Regions from separate parts of the Homo sapiens genome. Here region 2 is linked to region 1. Evidence: promoter capture Hi-C in 16 types of primary human blood cells and fetal thymus (Javierre and others, 2016). All regions are on one chromosome and are shown on one strand. Each heading gives the region's core, a stretch centred on a gene start or on the middle of the fragment in contact. The rest is flanking DNA. Distances are from core to core; before and after follow the strand shown. Region 1 holds the start of EPN2 (epsin 2). Region 2 holds the start of B9D1 (B9 domain containing 1).

Evidence for each region. The method cuts DNA at HindIII sites, captures the fragments that hold promoters and counts their contacts. A CHiCAGO score of 5 or more calls a contact.
Region 2: a fragment that was not itself captured here is called in contact with the fragment with the promoter of EPN2 in region 1 in 5 of 17 cell types (naive B cells, endothelial precursors, total B cells and 2 more); the score reaches 8.1 in naive B cells.

Annotation. Positions count from the first base shown.
Region 1 is chr17:19,234,709-19,240,205 of GRCh38, reverse strand. EPN2 (epsin 2) reads right to left here and starts at 2,840. Exons shown (of 11, transcript NM_014964.5): 1 at 2,675-2,840. RefSeq lists a silencer at 2,463-2,932. The HindIII fragment of the contact is 5,263 bases long and covers 1,319-5,497 here.
Region 2 is chr17:19,359,884-19,365,380 of GRCh38, reverse strand. It overlaps B9D1 (B9 domain containing 1), which reads left to right and starts at 2,658. Exons shown (of 7, transcript NM_015681.6): 1 at 2,658-2,874; 2 at 4,993-5,061. The coding sequence starts at 2,812. It overlaps LOC105371573 (a long non-coding RNA gene), which reads right to left and starts at 2,604. Exons shown (of 3, transcript XR_934302.4): 1 at 2,210-2,604; 2 at 1,871-1,901. RefSeq lists enhancers at 2,189-2,258, 1,815-2,599, 3,059-3,198 and a silencer at 2,749-3,018. The HindIII fragment of the contact is 848 bases long and covers 3,586-4,433 here.

The DNA of each region.
Region 1 (5,497 bases), core at 1,591-4,090:
CAGGTATACATGTCATAAAATGACAACAATCGTGGTCCTTCACACCCCTATACACCAGAGAGAAAGGTTATGGGGAACAGTGAGAACCGCCAGAAAACTTAGAAAATTTTAATGTACTTTCCAAAAGTATGACAAGGACAATTCCATGCATAAAAATCTCATAGTACTTCAGTTCACAACCGAAAGTTGCCGCTCCTCCTAATTAAAGTTAAAAAAAAAAAAAGTCCGAAAACTTTTCAACTTTTGCAGGACTCTTATCAGAATCCCAATTCTTGGGAAATCCTCCGCTCATTATGGAAGAGGGTTAGTGATAACAGAGAATTTCTACAAAGGTTGGGTCATTTTTCAAGGCTGCATACACGATGCTAGATATTATCACTTGAAAGTTTTACATTTCTTCACACCTCGAGTGCTTGGCCCAACACACACTGCTGGAAGTTTTCCACAGAGCTCTCCATCTGGCCAGCTCAGGCTTCAGAGAGGCAAAAAGCCTCTGTAAACCAGGGAAACTTGGTACATCCCACAAGACAATCCGAACTGGCTCCTGGTCCGGGGACTTGTGGGACGCAGTCCTGAATCATGCCTTACAGTAACTTACACTTTACCAAAATCTTTAATAACCAGTATCTCATTCCCTGCTTACAAAAGAATAGCCCAGTGAGACTGGTAAAGATGACTAGCCCAATTTTAAAACCAGGGAAATAAATAAGCTTTTAAAATGTAAAAGTAAAAATACAGATAAATAAAAGATTTAGGCCGGGAGTGTTGGCTCACGCCTGTAATCCCAGCACTTTGGGAGGCCGAGGTGGGCGGATCACATGAGGTCAGGAGTTCGAGACCAGCCTGGCCAACGTGGCGAAATCCCGTCTCTACTAAAAATACAAAGATTAGCCGGGCGTGGTGGATGGCGTGCGCCTGTAATCCCAGCTACTCCGGAGGCTGAGGCAGGAGAATCGCTTGAACCCAGGAGGCGGAGGTTTCGGTGAGCCGAGATCGTGCCACTGCACTCTAGCCTGGGTGACAGAGACTCCGTCTCAAAAAAATAAATAAATAAAAAATTTAAAAGTTTAGGTGCGCTTCCCCAACACAATCACTTGTCCCAAAAACAAGCACCGAACAAGTACCATTCAGAAGCAAATTGTAGTCCCTTTTGATGTTCATTTAAATACAGATGAAAACTTAATTATCAATGCTAACTCAATCACTGCTGTGCCAGATTCAGCATAAGATTTTGTCAGCACCTAAAATTCTGTATCTAGAGCTACAAGAGGCACGTTTTCTGCCAAATCTTCGTTATATTACATAATGAGAGGAAGCTTGGATTCTTAAAATTCACCTTTTCCCATCATTTTAACACCCTGTTCCAATCCCTTCTTTCACAGGATATTTTCTGGAGGTGAAAAGGAATAACTCATTACTTCTCATATTTTCCTGCCCACTTTCTTGCATAAATATTAAAAATAAAGGGGAAGGTAGGGTCCTGAACATCTCCCTAAAAGATAAAAAAGTTATTAAATGTGGTAAACAGAGCCTGGAGACCTAGCTTCTAGTTCTGCACTGACACAGTATCACTGCGTGACCTTGGGCAAATTACTGCAGTTCTGGGCCTCAGTTTCCCTCATCTGAACCCTAATGATGGTTAAGCCCTCTCCGCTCTTAAAGCACAGATTTTAGATACGTCCCCAGGGAAGCACAACTGTGAAGGAGTCGCCCAGACGGACTCCTTGGGCGGAGAAACGGCCTTCCACAAGCTCCGGCGGGGGGATTCACAGGGAGCTCAAGCTGCCCCAGGGAAAGCCACTGGGCAAACTTCAGGTCGCAAACAAAAACCTGTTGGCACCGACTCCTCTAGCAAAGGCCAGCCTCCCAACGCGCTCGGCTCTCGGCTCTAGGGGAGCCGCCCCACAGGGAGAGAGAGGAAGTCTCTCCTGGAAGAGGCCAGACCCCACGCACCCATTCACCCACCCGGATCAGCCGAGCAGGACCGCCGGGCCGGGTGGGTCTCTGCCATCCCACGCGGAACAAAAGGCAGCTGGAGCCTGGCTCTTCCGCCCCCGTCCCCGCTGTTCCGTGGGAGTGGGGGCTGGGGAGTGGGGAGCCTGGTCCCCAAGGACGGAAGGGGGCCCTGCTACAGCCCCCAGGAAAGGTGAGACGGGCGGGATCCCGGACAGAGATAAGGACCCCTCCCCCGATTCCCGGAGGGCGCCCGGACCGGGCTCTGCACGGGGGCTGGCGGGAGACCAGGCTGGGCTCAGGAGGAAGGGGCGCCGGGCTCGGGGAGAGGAGGAACGTGCTCTGGGGAGGGGGCGGGGTTGTTCCAAGATGAACGGGGCTCCAGGATCCGAGGTAGGAGTAAGGGGCGCCCTGGACTCTGGGGACATAAAAGGAGATGCTCGGTGATAGGGACGGGTAAGGGGGGAGATCCTTGCAGCGGAAAGCTGGATCCAGATGGGAAGGGGGCCATGCTCCAGTCCGTGGGGCGGGGCCTGGTTGGAAAGAAGGGGATCCCCCAGAGCCTGGCGTAGGGACCAGCGGGGCGGCAGGGGCGCATGCCCTGGCGGGGCTGGTGAGGTAGGGGAGCCTGTGCTCTGGGGGCGTCCGCGCCCTGGAGAGGGGGAGGGTCCTCGCCCCGGGGACTCGCTCTGGCCTTGGAGCCCCACGGGCTGTGGCTCACCTCTGCTCCTCCGGGCCGGCGTGGGTGCGCCGCTGCGGCCACCGGCAGCGCTCGAGAGGCGGGAGCGACCGTAGCCCGCGGAGCCGCCGCCACCGCCGCGTCTGGCTCAGTTTGACACCCACACACCAGCCAACATGGCGGCCGGGAGGGGGCGCGCCGGACGCGTGCGCGCGCCCTCAGGCCCCGCCCCCGAGGCCCCGAGGTCCCGCCCCCACGCCCGCAGACCACGCCCCTGCGACCCCGCCAGAGCCCCTCCCTAGTGGCCCCTGCGCGGCTTCCCCTCCGCCTCCTGCGCTCCAGGACCCCACGCGGACGACCCACCCTTCCGCAGCGCCCCACAGTCGACGCCCGAGCCCCCAAAAAACCCCCAATCCCGAGCGCCACACAAACCCTGGCAAATTAATACCCGAACGCGCGCACTCTAATCCCCTTCAGGCCACTCCACCCCGTACACACTCACGGCCCCCCCACACTCACGGCCGGGCAGCACGCGCAGACCCCGCCCCGTCAAGCAGAAACTCACGCTCCGGCCTGCCGGTTTCACTCAAAAACCTTGTTCAGTAGGAGAGACTGGAAGGGGGCCAGGGCCTGCCGGGCGCTGGTAGGGTTGGGTTCTTAGGCTACAAGTGTGTTCACTTTATGAAGATGCGCGGAAGTACACTTTGGATTTGTGCGCTTTTCCGTGCGTGTATTTCACGTCAATAAAATATACTCAAAAACGGAGAAGTCTCTAGGCTTCTTTAGGCTGCTCAAGGGGTTACCTAAGGGCACGAATGGCAAGGGGTTACCTACATGGCACGAAAACGGAAACCCTTGACTGGCGGGCACCCACAAAGCACCTCCTCTGTGCCAAGCCCTGTGCTGGGCACAGAAATGAGACAGCCCCAAATGCCTCGAATGAGAGTCCCGGAACTGGAGGGGCCAGAACTGGAGGCTGCACCTCAAAGCTGACTAACCTGCTCCAATCAGGGTGGGAGTCAGCAGAGACTTCTCACAGCAGGGGCGCGGAGCATGAGTCAGGGCTTGCTAGGTGGGCAGAGGGCACCATCCCTGTTGCCTGGGTGACATCAACACTCTGCCTAGCCTTGGCTTCAGGGAAGCTGTGGCCAGAAGTCTTCCTCTGCCCTAACTCACTGAGGGACCTTAAACAAGTCACTGTACTTCTCTGAGCCTCAGATTCCTCCTCCCTGTACAGGAACCAGGGGATGAAAGTATCCCTTAAGGTTCTAACAACCCAGGATCTGGAATTCCATTCTCTGGCAAAAAAAAAAAAGGTTGTATCTTTCCAGGAATTCATCTATTTATTGTAAGTTTTTTAGTGTGTGTGCATAGACGTGTTCATAATAGTTTTTGAGGGCTTTTTTGTGTTTGTATGGGGTCGGTGGTAATGTCCTCTTTGCCCTTTCTGATTATGTTTACTTGTATCTTCTCTTTTTTCTTTATTAGTCTAGCTAGTGATACAATAAATACGATAAAAATGGAGAGAGCTTGTAACACGTTTGCAAAACCACATAGCCACTTTTCCTTTGAAAAGTCAAACACTGGTAGCTCTAGATGCTAGAAACACTCTCCAGTTAACCACCCTTCCCACTGCTTGGTGCCCCTTCTCCACCAGCAGAGGGAATTATGCCCTATGTGCCTGCCTTGCAGCAGAAGCCGGAGCTCCCCGTTTTGAACTTGGTCCACCCTCATCCCAGAGAATGCCCTCAACCAGTCCAACATTCCTTGTGAGCCTCACCTCTTTACCCCATCTCCAAGGAAAGCAGAACTTTACACTGCAATCATGCTTCTGCCCTGAGTTTACAATGTCAGATGAGTTATAACACAGAGCTGATGCACAGCACGGGCGTGATGCTTCTAAATCAGCACTGTTCAGCAGAATTTCCCTCCACGATGGAAATGTTCTTTCTGCGTGCTGTCCGTAGGATAGCTACGAGTCACAGGAGGCCAGCGAGCACTTGAAATGTGGCTAGTGAGACTGAGGGGCTGAATTTTTTAAACTTCATTAAACTTTTATTAATTTAAATGTAAATAGCCATATGTGGCTAGATGCTACCATGCTGACCAGTGCTGGTCTAAAACCTTACCACAATTCCACAAGTGCACATTCTTTTTTTATTTATTTGTTTTGAGACGGAGTCTCACTCTATTGCCCAGGCTGAAATGCAATGGCACAATCTCAGCTCACTGCAACCTCCATCTCCCAGGTTCAAGTGATTCTCCTGCCTCAGCCTCCCACGTGGCTGGGATTACAGGCCCGCACCCCCACACCTGGCTAATTTTTGTATTTTTAGTAGAGACAGGGTTTCACCATGTTGGCCAGGCTGGTCTCGAACTCCTGACCTCGTGATCCTCCCGCCTCAGCCTCCCAAAGTGTTGGGATTACAGGTGTGAGCCACCGTGCCCAGCAAGGTGCACATTCTTGCTGTTCACATTTTACAGACAAGAAATTGAGGTTTGGAGATATGCTGGGGCTTGGCCACCCAGGCCCACTTTTCCATATGCAGAGCCTAATACTCCCTTCACTACCCACCTAGCAAGTGTGTGTAGCCGCACAGATAATATGCAAGCCTGGAAAGAGAACTGGATACAGATAATGAGATGATGAGCTAACCTACAGGACAGGAAGTGAGTTGGAGAATACCAGATTAGCCCAGGCTTGGGAAGTGGAGGAGGGTGTCCTGAGGCCGGAAGACCGCCACGTGCAAGGTCAGAGGGGACATTCTTGCATTCCTCAAAGTCATTTCTCTTTCCTGGACCCCCTCCTTGAAGCGTATCAGCCCCCTGGCATTCCTCTCTCAATTCATCCTCATGATGATCCCT
Region 2 (5,497 bases), core at 2,760-5,259, 120 kb before region 1:
GGAGGGTGGCCCCCAGCCTCTCCAGCTCTCCACCTCCCCTTCACCTCCTCTCTCCACAGTTGGCCTTGGTCCCACTTCAGTGTGACCTTGGGTCCAGATCGACTGCAGATGGACTCTTGTGAGATCAGGTTACCATGGGGGAGCTGCTCTTGTCCTCAGCAGGGCCCGAGGGCTCTGGGTTTGGTAGCCTGGTCCTGGCACAACTGGCAAGGGGCAAGGCCTCCGTCGCTCACCAGCGCTGTGCAGGCCGTCCCCCTGGCCACTCAATCCCACTGTTCCCTCTTCCTGAGACAGCTCTGCTGGGGCCAGGGGTTTGAACCCGATTTCAGTAAGGATGGGAGCAGAAGCCTGGGATGGTTGAGAGACTGGGGGAGGCAGATGGCCAGGGTGGAGCTTGGGACCCTGCAGGGGCTCTGGCCAGCTGCCCGGCAGCACCATGGCCATAGGCATGCAGGGAAGAGGGCTGGCGCTGACACCTGCTCTGCTCAAGCCAGCTTCCAGCCTCACCCCTGCCCAATGGCTGACAGCCCCGCCTGCCCAATGTGCTGGAAGCTTCCCTGAGGGGACTGCGTGGGAGTGTACCAGAGGACAGAGCTGTACTAAGAGTGAGGTGGGAGCGAGGAATGTCTAGGAGCCCAGGAAGGCATCTGGGGGTGGAGAGACTTGGCACAGGCACAGGCAGGGAAGCTCAGCAATATATGTTAACAACCAGCATGGCTGGACTGGTGCAGATCGGCTGGATGTCAGCTGGGCTGAGGGTCTGCCCCACCCCATTGCAGATCCCTACATCCCACCCCAAGAGCTGCAGAGTGTCCTGCTGAGATCGCTGTGTGTCAGCATCTGCAGAAACTACCTTCTCCTCCAACCTGACTGTCCTGACCTGAAGGACAGCCTGCCCAAGGACTTCTAGTACACCAGGCTCTCCACTGGGCCCTTGAACTGGTGGTAAGGATTCCAGCAGGCCCTATGCAAGCCCCTATGCAAGCCCCTGAGACCCCTCTCCTAAAGTCGCTTCTAATGCCACTAGACTTGTTAAAGTTAGGCCTGGTCACCCTCCCATCCTATCCTGGAGTCTTCCATTCCCCAACACCCAGGGGTCGGGCTTATTTGTACCCCTGAAGGCCACCCTAGAACTTCCCACCCCTTGGGGAGACTCCCCCATTATGTCCTATTTGAATGTGGGGCCACCTTTGGTATAGCCAGGTCTTAAACTACTGGGAGCCCCCAGTTATTCGATAACTACAAGCATTTTGCTGAAAACTAACTTGTGTGCAACACCGAGCCTCAAAGGCCAAAGGGAGGAAATAATTGGGTGAGACTGATAGAATGTGTGGGAGAAAGCACTTTAACTGGAAAGAGATGGACAGAGCGGGGGAAGAAGGGAGTATGACCCCCTCTCCAGGAGGGGAAATGGGCCCTGTCTTGGGCTCTGGGTGCAGCACTTGGGCCACCAGCCCACCCATCCCCTCCCCCAGCTGCTCTTGTCAGATGTGTGAACTGGTTACCCGCTGCCTCCCTCCCCTGATCAAATATCTTTGCTCACTAGGCAGGGGGTGGTTCAGTGGGTGCAGGCTGGGCTGAGACTGCTCCTTCCCTCCCTCGTGCAGATGGTTGATGGGACTCCCCTAGTCTGCTCCCAAGCTAGAAGCTGCAGAATGTGATGACCTGGGGTCCCTGCTCGGAGCCTGGCCTCCCGGGAGTCTACACACCTGTGAATCCCTTCATTTCCTGGATCCAAGATAATGTCTCCAACGTCTCCTTTGACACCTCTGCCAACAGATGCTGTTGGGGCTGGCCCAGGACAAGACAGAGGCAGTGAGGGTTGTTAGCCTCTGGAGTCCTGGGTTTGAATCCTGACTTAGCTACTTACCTGCCTTTGCCATCTGAATCTGTTTCCTCCTCTGTAAAATGGAGATGTCTTCAATTATTCATTTATCAACAAGTTAGTAGTTACCAAGTGCTTACTCTGTGACAGGCCACTAAGATACAAGACTGTATCTTGACAGATTCGTGGATTTTGGCTAGCAACTCCCCTGAGCGCTGGCTGATTGGGGTGCCAGGCGCCGCCCGCTGCGGGCCTCAGTTTCCCCAGCTTCGAACTAAAGAGCGATGGCTTGGATGTAAGGATTCTTGAGGTCCCTCCCAAGTTTGTTTAATAAACTTTTTCGAGGGCAAGCGTCTCCAAGCCACAGGGGCGCATCCTTTTCACCTGCTTGGACGCTGCTTGGCCCCAGCTGGGGAGGCTCCTCCGAGCACCCGGCATTCCAGAGTTAGCCCCGACAGCTGTGGTCACGTCGCCCGTGCTCTGCAGCGCCTCCCTCCGCGTCCTCGCGGTGGGGCCACAGCGACATCTAGTGGCTGAATGTATTTTAAACACTCGGCTTGCTGAGGGCGTGAGTCGGAGCGCTGCTCCCCAGGACTCAGCTCTCATTCGCCTCTGCGCTTCGGCGGGGACGGGGAGCCGGGCCGAGTCAGAGTGAACACACACTCCCTGCGCGTGCAACTGAGTCGAGCGGTAGGGCTGGCTTTACCCGACAGGTCAACGCTCCCGCCCCAGCTCTCGGTCATACCTGCCCTAAGGAGGGGTGGAGCCTCGGCGTGGATCCCCGCCCCTTGTGCCCCGCCCCCTTATAACGGCGCCCGTTCACTGCGCCTGCGCATGCCACACGCGCACTCGCGTGGCCTTCGCGAAGGTGTCGCTGCCAAGAAACGTGTCCTGCGCGCTACGCCGTCTGTTTCTAGGGCAACGCCGGCGTCTCTTAGCAACCGCGCGCGGCCTAGGTGGGTCCCCCCGGCACCCCCAGACCTGCCATGGCGACCGCGAGTCCTAGCGTCTTTCTACTCATGGTCAACGGGCAGGTGGAGAGCGCCCAGGTGAGCGGCCGTGGACCCCGCCGGGGCCCGCCCCCCAGCGTCCCCCGGGGCCCTTCCCGCAACCCCCCGGGCTGCCCTGTGGCCCCCGGAGAGCCACGTCATTCCTCTGAGCCTCTCGGTTAGGCGGGGGAGGGGAGCCAGCATTGGAGAGCTTGGCGCGAGGTTGCCCGGATCCTGAGTCCCGATGTGCAGGAATAGAAGCAGACCTCGAGATGTTGAGCTAGTACCGAGGTCACACTCGGGCAAGCCTGTGGGCCCTCGCACGGGTCATGCCCACTTGCTTGGATCACTGGCAGGAGCCTCCTGGGGTTAACGCGAGGAGCCGAGGCTTGGCCGAGTTTCCAGCATTTGCGCTGTGTCCCGTGTGGAGTTACTGTCCCGCGTTCTGAATCCCCAGATCCTTGAACTCGGGTTCGAATCCAACCATCCAACAATGGTGGTGGCCTGGAATTGACCCAAGGAAGGTGTGCCTGCTAGGCCCGAGGGACGCTATTCCCCATCCCCCTACACTTTAGAGGAATCATTTATTGTAAATATAAACCAACGCTCACCAAGTCCTCAATATGTCCCAAAGTCGGTGCTCCGCACTGGTCCACCCTTACAGCCTTACCAGATAGGCACTACTAACACCCCCATTTTACAGCTGGGGAAATATACCAAAGGAACTGGCCTGTCTGGGAATTGAACCCACGCCTATCTGACCTCAAAGCTTCACTACACTGTCCTTCCAGGCTGTTGGAGGTGGTGTTTATTATTATTTTATAATATTATTGTGAGGATTGACTGAGACGGTTTGGGTAAGGCTCTGACAGGGCCTGATGCTTTGTAGGTGTCTCCTGCCTTCCTATTTCATCAGGGATACTACTCCATGCTCCCACCCTGTCCGCCTCTGCCTTAGCCTAGTGCCTAAGACCGTCTTTCCCCACTCTCCTGTCCTTTCCTATTAGGGGCTCTCGGCTGGGCTGAGTCACATGTGTCTGTGCTCTCAGCATCAGCGACCCCCCCGCCACACACACACTGACAGTCACACTGTTCCTCCCTGCTCTGCTCTCAGCACCTCCCTCTTTTCAGGGCCTCAGCTCCAGCCTTGCATATGATGGCTTCCTGGGTTCTCAGACCTTTCACTTCAGCACCATTCCCTTACACCAGTGGTCCTCAACCTTTTTGGCACCAGGGACTGGTTTTGTGGAAAACCAGGTGGCGAGGGATGGTTTTGGGATGATTTGGGGACATTACATTTATTGTGCACTTTATTTCTATTATTACCTTGTAAATAATAATGAAATAATTATACAACTCACCATAATGTAGAATCAGTGGGAGCCCTGAGTTTGCTTTCCTGCAACTAGATGGTCCCATCTGGGTGTGATGGGAGACAGTGACAGATCATCATGCGTTAGATTCTCATAAGGAACATGCAACCTAGATCCCCCACATGTGCAGTTCACAGTAGGGTTCGTGCTCCTATGAGAATCTAATGCCGCCACTGATCTGACAAGGAGGTGGAGCTCCCGTGGTCATGCGAGCAATGGGGAGCAGCTGTAAATACAGTTGAAGCTTTGCTTGCTCGCCTGCTCCTCACCTCTTGCTGTGTGGACCCGTTCCTAACAGGCCACGGACTGGTTGAGGACCCCTGCCTTAGACCTTATCTGTGCCCAGCCCTGTGCCAGGCAGTGGGGACACAGAAAGGCATTAAATCTCTTCTCTACTCATGGTCTAGAGGAACTGACAGACTTAGACACAGGCAATCATTGCTTTTATGGAGGGAAGCACGGGGCTAAGGGAGCCAAGAGGAGACCTTAAACCAGCTTGAGAGTTAGAGCAGGCTCCCTGAAGGGTAAGTTTTGAAGGGTGAGCAGGAGTTTTCCGGATGAAGTAGGAAGGACAAATCAGACAAGGCAGAGCCTGAGCAAAAGCCAGGGGCCGTGGCACCTGGGAGTCTCCCGTGGACTCCCGCTTCTTGGTCCTCAGCCTCTCCTCTGAACACATCTCCAGCCGTCTCTTAGACCCACTCCCAGGTGTCTCACGTTCAGAATTCCCCTTGGCTGCACCTGCCTAGCAAATGCATTGGCCTCAGCATGAATACCAGTCGACAGAATCTGTCTGTGCTTTTTTCAGTTTCCAGAGTATGATGACCTCTACTGCAAGTACTGCTTTGTGTACGGCCAGGACTGGGCCCCCACAGCGGTAAGCTGGACTCTTGGGCCTCCCTTACCGCCTTCATGACTTTTGGGGTTTCTGAAGGTGTCATATCCTTCCCCTCCCCATTCAGAACAAGTTAAGAGGTAGAGACTGAGTTCAGGGGAACCCAAACATGAGTGTTCCTGGTAAAGCGGGAGCAGAGGACACAGCCATGGTTGGACTCCCTGATCCATCCACCAAGACTGCACTCAGAAGCCCTACCCTGTGAGCTTCCCCGGGGCAGCAAAGAGCAACACCTGCAGTAGGAGGCAGGCCCCAGTGAGCCAGCCTGGACGTGGCTGAGCTGTGGACACTCTGGCCAGTCCGCTCACCATTTGGCCTCTCCTCAGCCAGTGGGGAGGACCTGGAGTAAAAAGACAGAGTAGGAGCTCTCCTTCCAGGACTTCCCAAGGGGTAGCTTGCCTCCACCAGGTGAGGGACT